Linked DNA regions of Homo sapiens: regions 1 and 2 are each linked to region 3. Evidence: promoter capture Hi-C in 16 types of primary human blood cells and fetal thymus (Javierre and others, 2016). All regions are on one chromosome and are shown on one strand. Each heading gives the region's core, a stretch centred on a gene start or on the middle of the fragment in contact. The rest is flanking DNA. Distances are from core to core; before and after follow the strand shown.

What was found. The method cuts DNA at HindIII sites, captures the fragments that hold promoters and counts their contacts. A CHiCAGO score of 5 or more calls a contact.
Region 1: a contact is called between a fragment that was not itself captured here and the fragment with the promoter of HADH in region 3, in 1 of 17 cell types (neutrophils). The highest score is 5.2, in neutrophils.
Region 2: a contact is called between a fragment that was not itself captured here and the fragment with the promoter of HADH in region 3, in 2 of 17 cell types (monocytes and M2 macrophages). The highest score is 5.4, in monocytes.

Annotation. Positions count from the first base shown.
Region 1 is chr4:107,737,571-107,740,270 of GRCh38, forward strand. No RefSeq gene overlaps it. Among named protein-coding and RNA genes, the nearest start is that of PAPSS1, 19 kb to the left of the region's middle. The HindIII fragment of the contact is 7,745 bases long and covers 1-2,700 here.
Region 2 is chr4:107,757,911-107,760,637 of GRCh38, forward strand. No RefSeq gene overlaps it. Among named protein-coding and RNA genes, the nearest start is that of PAPSS1, 39 kb to the left of the region's middle. The HindIII fragment of the contact is 1,628 bases long and covers 532-2,159 here.
Region 3 is chr4:107,988,603-107,991,302 of GRCh38, forward strand. It overlaps HADH (hydroxyacyl-CoA dehydrogenase), which reads left to right and starts at 1,287. Exons shown (of 8, transcript NM_005327.7): 1 at 1,287-1,462. The coding sequence starts at 1,331. RefSeq lists a silencer at 1,054-1,283. The HindIII fragment of the contact is 11,946 bases long and covers 1-2,700 here.

The DNA.
Region 1 (2,700 bases), core at 178-2,677, 250 kb before region 3:
TACGCAAAGCAAGTGTTAGAGCTACCAGAGGCAATAAAGGCCCCAAGAGAAATAGCTGTTATGCGTTGCCCAGGCCATCAGTGCAACAATTCTGAAGTAGCTAGGGGAAATGCTTTCTTAGATTGCACAGCCAGGCACCTAGCCAGCTCCAATGTTGAACTCCGGGTTCCTTTAATTCCCCAAATAGATTTGGCAGCCTTCAAACCTAGGTACAGTCTTGAGGACGAAAAGGCTACCAAGGACAAAGGGTTTATTCAGGATGAAAAATGACTGGAAATTGAATGACAAAGGCCTAATCTGGGTGTCAGAGATAAAATTTCTTTTATCCTATTCTTTCTGTTTACACCTAGTATTGTTTCTGCATCCACTGCTAACCTCCTTCTACAATGGGCACAGGACTATGCAGACAGCCTCCAGCATGATTCCTGTTAGGTCTGTGGCCTGTTACCCCTTTCTAGCACCACCGTGGTGGGTCTCACCTATGCAAGGGAAAGATTGGAGACATTTACAAGTCTTCCTGGATTTAAAACACTGGACCGGCTCACAAATGATGGGAGTGACTAAGGCAAATGTGTCAGAATGGCTGCACAACTTTCAATGACCCAGGACATGGGTCTTTCCTTCACCCAATACTAAAATATATTCATGATGGCACAACTTTTGGGCAAGATGCCTCATTAACTTTCATATAGAAGTATACGAAAAGGAATGAGGGCCCATTTAGAAAGTATAATCCTACGATGCCACTTTTGCACTAAAAATGAGCCCAACAACCATAATACAGGACAGCCTGGACAGCAAGGGAGAGGGAAACAACCACTAGAGAATTGGCAAATTGACTTTACTCAAATGCTACCTGCCCCAGGAGGGTACAAATATCTCCTAGTTCTGGTGGACACCTTCTCAGGCTGGGTAGAGGCATACCCATGCTGCTCTGAGTGGGCAATGGAGGTAGTTAAGGTACTGCTAAAGGAAATCATTCCTCGATATGGGTTTCCTGACATTATCCAGAGTGACAATGGACCTTCATTCACATAGGAAATCGCCCAACAAGTAAGAAAAGTGCTAGGGATAAAATGGAAGCTACACACAGCCTGGAGGCCTCAGTCCTCCAGACAAACTGAAAGAATAAATCATACCTTAAAAACAACCCTCGCCAAGCTATGTCAGGAAACACGGCTAAAGTGGCTTCAGTTGCTTGGGATTCCTCTGCTCCAGGTAAGAATAGCTCCCAGAAGTGGGATCAAATGAAGTCCCTGTGAAATCATTTTCAGGAGGCCTTTTGTAGCCAACTTGTCCCAGGTGGCTAGAATGTCTCCAGACAAGGAACTAGCTATTAAAACTTATGCCACTCACTTGGAACAAACTCTTAATCCCTTGCATAAATTTTCTTCTAACAGAAACGTCATAGACTCCGTGGAAGCCCACCACCCGTTCCAGTCTGGAGATCAAGTGCTGCAGAAAGAATGGAAGGAAGCTGGTCCTGCCCAACAACTACAAGAGAAATAGAAAGAGCCCTATGATGGGCTGTTGACTACCGACTCAGCACTGAAACTAGCAGGCATCAAACCTTGGGTTCATCATATGTGGGTAAAGAAATTCCAGTCGCCCAAGAACTCCACCACAGAAACACCTGTAGCCACTCAATGGGAGGCAGAGCCCCTAGAGGACCTAAAGTTTCTATTCAGAAAACGATAAGAATTTCTTTTATCCTATTCTTTCTCTTTATACCTAATATTGTTTCCGCACACACTGCTAACCTCTTTCTACAATGGGCACAGGACTATGCAGACAGCCTCCAGCAGGATTCCTGTTGGGTCTGTGGCCTGTTACCCCTTTCTAGCACCACAGTTTACTGTGGTGGGTCTCACCTATGCAAGGGAAATATTAGAGACATTTACAAGTCTTCCCGGATTTAAAACACTGGACTGGGTCACAAATGATGGGAGTGACTAGGGCAAATGTGTCAGAATGGCCCATAAACAACTTTAAATGACCCTTTAAATGACATGAAAAGCCATTCTTGATTAACATAACAAGAGACGAAGTTATAGCACTAGCTACTCCCTTGTTAGAACCAAAAGTGCCCATCCAAACTTTTAAACCCCAAAATGTTTGATACCAGAGTGGCTTTCTCCAAATTTGGGTTGGGCTCATATGGTTAACCACCTCTACTGGGCACTTGAGTCAACTAGCCCCCTTGTGTTGGGAACAATGAAACCACTCCCTTGACCACTGACCCAATGCCACATGGGTTATGGGATGGATTCTCCCAGATCGGTGCCAACATATTATAGCACTCCAGCAAAGGGATGTATTTGCCACAGATTGGTCTCAACGGCCCGGCCTAAAGATTGGGAGCAATGGCCCAGTATGCTCCCAACAGGACTCAATGGCTTTGTGGCACCAATTTGTGGCTGTGGCTCCCTGTGGGCTGGCTAGGACGCTGGACTCTAGGCCTCCCATAGCACAAGGTTGCTGGGTAAAAAAAAAAAAAAAAAAAAAAATCCAGCCTGTTGTCCACATATGATTAATAGGTGGACTAGGTCAGTCTTTCATTAGTATGATCATCTAGCTGCAATATTCATGCCCTCAGTAGGGCTAGGAACTGTCATATGGCACATAGAAGCCCTAGCTAACTTTACCAAAAGGGCTCTGAATGACAGCCTCCAGAGCATCTCTCTAATAAATACTGAAATG
Region 2 (2,727 bases), core at 96-2,595, 230 kb before region 3:
GTAACCTCTTCCTTTCTTCCCTAAATTTTTAAAACTCTCCTCAGTTACCTCAGGAAATTCCTTCTTGATCTCTGGTTCCAATTTTAAAGAGTCAAGATCCAGTTATATTTTGAAGTAACCTTTTTATATTACACGAATTTTATGGGAATAATTCTAAAGGTGAACACTAGATGGCAACATTTTTAAATTTTGCTGTTCTAAAATCTAGTCTGATAGATGGCAAATGCTGAGAGCCTCCAAATAGGAGTATATAGTTCTTTAGTTTCTTAAACATTTTTTCCTTCTAGTTTTTAAACATCAGATAAGCTTTTAGATCTCTCCATAAAGGAACTGTATGGTGTTTAATTCTTAAAAATAAAGCATTTCTTTTTTATATCTTATATAATCCCTTTTTATATCTTATATAATCGTTCTAAAATATTTTCTAATTTTATTTTTTCCTTAAAATAACAAATCTAAGCTGTATCTATTTATTAATTGTGCCATATTCTGTTTAAGGTATTTTCAGTAGTTTAGTTCTTTGAAATAATAAGCTTTTATTTAATTTTACAGAGAGCTAGAGATGATATTTTATATAATATATATAACAGAGGTATACATACTTTTTCCTTTCCTCATGTGTTTTCTTATGGAAATTTGAGCTCAGAGACTAAAAATAACAGGTGAGAATTTCCTGTCATGAGGATGAGGAAGAGTAGGGGTGTAGTTTCTACGAAAAAGTAATTGTTTTGCAAATCTTCTAATTTTCCTTAGGAAGTGAAAATGTGAACTGGGATTTCATTCCTGGTAAAAATGTAAAATTCTTTAAATAAAAATATACCTTATTATAAAAATATATTTTACACTAAGGAGCTTTTAATACAAAACATCACTTAGGACTCCAAGACCAAAATGGACAAAGAATAGGAACGATAAAGAAGACATGCAAAAAGCTAATTACCACATGAAAAGGTTAAAAATCACTAGCAGTTTTACAAAGCAAGAATCAAATGCTCTTTTGCCTTTAAGTTTAGCAAAAATAAAAACAATGTTTGCTGTCTTCCCCTCCCCATTATCAGACTGAATATTCAAAATATTGTAGTAACAGCCTGAGTTCAAATCCCAGCTCAGAATTCTACCTATCTATCTGGACTTGGTCCAATTTTTTTACTTCTCTCCACTACAGTTTCCTAATCTGTAAAACAGGACTAGTTAGCAAAATGAGGATTAAATATGTTAATCCATGTAAAGTTTAAAAAAGGGTACCTGGGCTGGGCATGGTGGCTCACGCCTGTAATCCTAGCACTTTGGGAGGCCGAGGTGGGCATATCACAAGGTCAAGAGATCGAGACCATCACGGCCAACATGGTGAAACCCTGTCTCCACTAAAAAATACAAAAATTAGCTGGGTGTGGTGGTTGGCACCTGTAATCCCAGCTACTTGGGAGGCTGAGGCAGGAGAATCACTTGAACCTGGGAGGTGGAGGTTGCAGTGAGCCAAGATTGCGCCACTGCACTCCAGCGACAGAGCGAGACTCCGTCTTAAAAAAAGAAAAAGTACCTGGTTGGCATGATGATATTTTGAATACACTGAGTTAAAGAGAATATATTATTAATTTTGTAAGAATACCTGGCATATATGTGTTTACCTAATATATGTACCAGTTATATTAGCATTGTATAAATATTACATAGTATAAATATTATAATTTTATTCCAGTGGTGGATTGGGTATAGAATGTTTAAAAAAATAAACAACAGAACTATAAAGATAAGTAGACAAAAAAGGCTACAGAAATATTATTAGAAAAAGAAACAGAAGGATCTTCTAGAAATGTAACTGTTTAATTTTTTAATCAATAAACAGATTAAACAGGTTTTAAAGGTATTTAGAAATAAACTGAGCATCAATAATATTCACAATCATAAATAAACTTAACTCACTATTAAATGGTTGATTGTCCAGTTGTATTTAAAAAATCCAGCTAAATACTGTTTAGAATACGGGGACATAAAACATAAGGACATAGTAAAAAGTTAGTAAAAAGATATACCTGACAGATATTAACCAAAAGAAATCTTGATGGAATATTAGTATTGAAACAAGTTTATGACCAAAAATATAAAAACAAAAACAAATCACCCCAAAACATTATTAAGGAAAACTAAGTTCACCAAGAAGCTTTAATGATTTCAGTTTTGTATGTGCTTGATAAAAGAGCCTTAAAAATATAAAGCAATAATTGATAGAATTACAGGAAGAAATGGACAACTCTACCATATAATGGAAGATTTCAATATTCATTCACTCATCTTATTCAACAACTATTTTTGAGTGTCTGCAGGCTAGGGACTCTTCTACTCACTGGGAAGAAAACATAAAAATCCTTACCTTTTTGAAGCCTAGATTATAATGGAAGGAGAGAGAAAATATATACAAATACTTAAATATAGTATAACCTTATGGAAATATATCCAGGATAACATAAATTCTAAAACTATAAAATGGATGTTTCGCTCCCATCCACCACTCTATCCTACATGTAGAACAGATAGGGAGGAGGAATATTGCTTTTGTTCTGAGGTTGGGGGATGGAATAGGGTACATAATAGATAGGGCAGCCAGGCAGCAAACTAGCACAAAATCCACAGGAGAAGTGGAGTTCGAATCCCGCTTGCTCAGTAATTGCCCCATTCAATATTCCCAAACTGGGCCAACAAAATTTGCACTATCTAGCTAGGAATTTC
Region 3 (2,700 bases), core at 37-2,536:
CAGTTAGAATAACAACATGAAGAAAGTATAATCACTCAACTAATTTGACATTGTGACTTCCATACTGAGACAAAACAAGGTTCTGGTCAATCTCGTAAAACTGAGAGGCTGACCCAAAGGAGGAAACTGTTATTAAATTAAATCTGGCCTAAAGTTGCCTCCCTACCTAGCAAAGCATAATCAAACCTAATATGTAAATAAACTGCAATGTAATTTGAGAGTACGTTCTTCTAACAAGTGGCCAAGTCTTGGCCAATCACCGCAGCGGAGCTTTTAGCCCATTACAGGCTGCAAAAAATATTGTCTATAAACGCGGCTTGCCCACTGTTAGGGGCTGGAGCTCTCTGAACCTTTACTGGCTCAGGATACTACATGATTCATGCTTTCTTTGCTCAGATAAACTCTGCTAAACTTGTTTGAAGTTTTTTTGTTAACAATATTTAAACATAAAGCAAATAAATTAATAAGAATCCTATATCACTAAGTTACAGTAATTAGAAAGTATTCACCTGAGTGAGAAGATTGGCCAAGCTGCTATCCAGTCTTCCATTATTTGACAAGACATTTCTTTCCTATGCTTTCTAATAGTATTCGTTATTCCAGAAAGGTTGCTCTATGACCTTAAACCGTCCACATGTTCACTGCACTGATAGACGTCCAACGTCAAGATGGGTAACTAAAGGTCAACTCTCTCTTTACCTTCCCTGAGCCTGATTTTTGCATTGTAACTCATGGTCACTAGACATTTGTTTTGGGTGTTCGCAGTCTACATTTATTTCCCTTTTAGGGGAAACAATCACTGTCCACGGGATTAAAATAATCCCGAGTTGATTATTTGGTGACATCAACCAACGGTGCACATTTTGGGTCCATTACCAACACAGCCAAGCAGCACATATTTCTTCAGAGCCTAGATATGCACATGTCATCAAAGGATAGCATTTTACAGAGTCAACACCACTCACTTCATAGAACAAGGGGCCAGTGGCTTTTCAGAAGAAGGGTCTGTTCTCGGCCCCACACCAGAACGCCAGCCGCCAGGTCCCGCTGCTCAGCAGGTCTCAAGCCCGCGCTCACTCGGGCTCCGGCTGCTGACAGCTGCGAGCCCGCGCGTGTATACCCGCTCAACGCTGGGACGTTACAGCCAGGGCCAATGGGCAGAGCGGGACTCGAGGCCCCGCCCCCGCCTTGTGGCGTCACGGGGACGCCGGGGGCGCGCGGGCTGCAGGGCCGCGTAGGTCCCCGCCCCCAGAGTCTGGCTTTCCGCGGCTGCCCGCCTCGCGCGTCTTCCCTGCCCGGGTCTCCTCGCTGTCGCCGCCGCTGCCACACCATGGCCTTCGTCACCAGGCAGTTCATGCGTTCCGTGTCCTCCTCGTCCACCGCCTCGGCCTCGGCCAAGAAGATAATCGTCAAGCACGTGACGGTCATCGGCGGCGGGCTGATGGGCGCCGGCATTGCCCAGGTGAGCGGCCCTCCCTGCAGCGTGCCCACGCGCTTGGCCGCCCACCCTGAGGTGGAAGCTCTGGCGCGACCGGCCGCGAGGGGCCTGCACCCGCCCGACACCAGGGAGTTTTCACCCCGCGCCTCCCGGGTGTAGTTGAAATATCTCGCGTCTGGGCCTGTGAGGGCCCAAGTCTCACTCCCCTCAAAATTCAGGGTTCTGGGCCGATCCTCAGCTTCCTCGTTTGGAAAATTCTGGCTGCCCCCAGGGCCCGCTGAAGGTTCCATGGAGAGTGGCGGTGAATGCATTTTGGAAGCGGGCCGTGCAAGAGAAGAAAGAATTGTATGTGCACAAGGTTCAGGCATAACGCGTTTGTTCCTGCTCGGCTCAAACGGGAGTTTGCTGCCAAAGACATGAACTGCGATCAGTTTTAATTCTATCAGTTATTTTTGATTTTTATTCTGTAATTGTGCAGTCTTTGTCAAAGTAGTTTTCTCTCCTAAACGGCCTCCCGGCTCTCCCCGGTCTTTCCTTCGCTTGCTAGGTTGTAAAGAATAGTAGTAGTCATGACTTTTGTAGCACTTTGTAAAGTCACCTAATGGAAGATTGCTGAGGTCCTGGTTTTGACCTTTGAAATAGTGCCGTCTGTGCAGAGTTCTGAGCTTGCGATTTTGGCGCTGCAGCGGAATAAGTCTCTCTCTTTTTTTTTTTTTTTTTTTTTTTGAGTCGGAGTCTCTTTGACCCAGGCTGGAGTGGAGTGCAATGGCGCGATCTCGGTTCACTGCAACCTCCGCCTCCCGGGTTCAAGCGATTCTCCTGCCTCAGCCTCCCGAGTAGCTGGGATTACAGGCGCCCCGCCCGGCTAATTTTATATTTTTAGTAGAGACAGGGTTTCACCTTGTGGGTCAGGCTGATCTCGAACTCCTGACCAAAGGTGATCCGCCCGCCTGGCCTCCCGAAGTGCTGGGATTACAGGCGTTAGCCACTGCACCCAGCCGGAACAAGTCTTTTATCCATTGTACATCTTCAGGGCTTTTCCATTGTTCTGCTGAGCTGTGGTTCAGGCTCAGTTGTGCGAGTGATTGATTACCTGGCTACTGTAATGCTTGTACTTTTTTTTTTTAAAAATTATTCCATTTCAGCTCACATTGGAGAACCATGGTTTTCGTATCCTAGCTGATTATATTCTTAGCATTTCAGTCCTTTGCAACTTGGTTTGTTGGGGAAGGCGGTTATAGTCATCTAATTTTTCTTGGGGA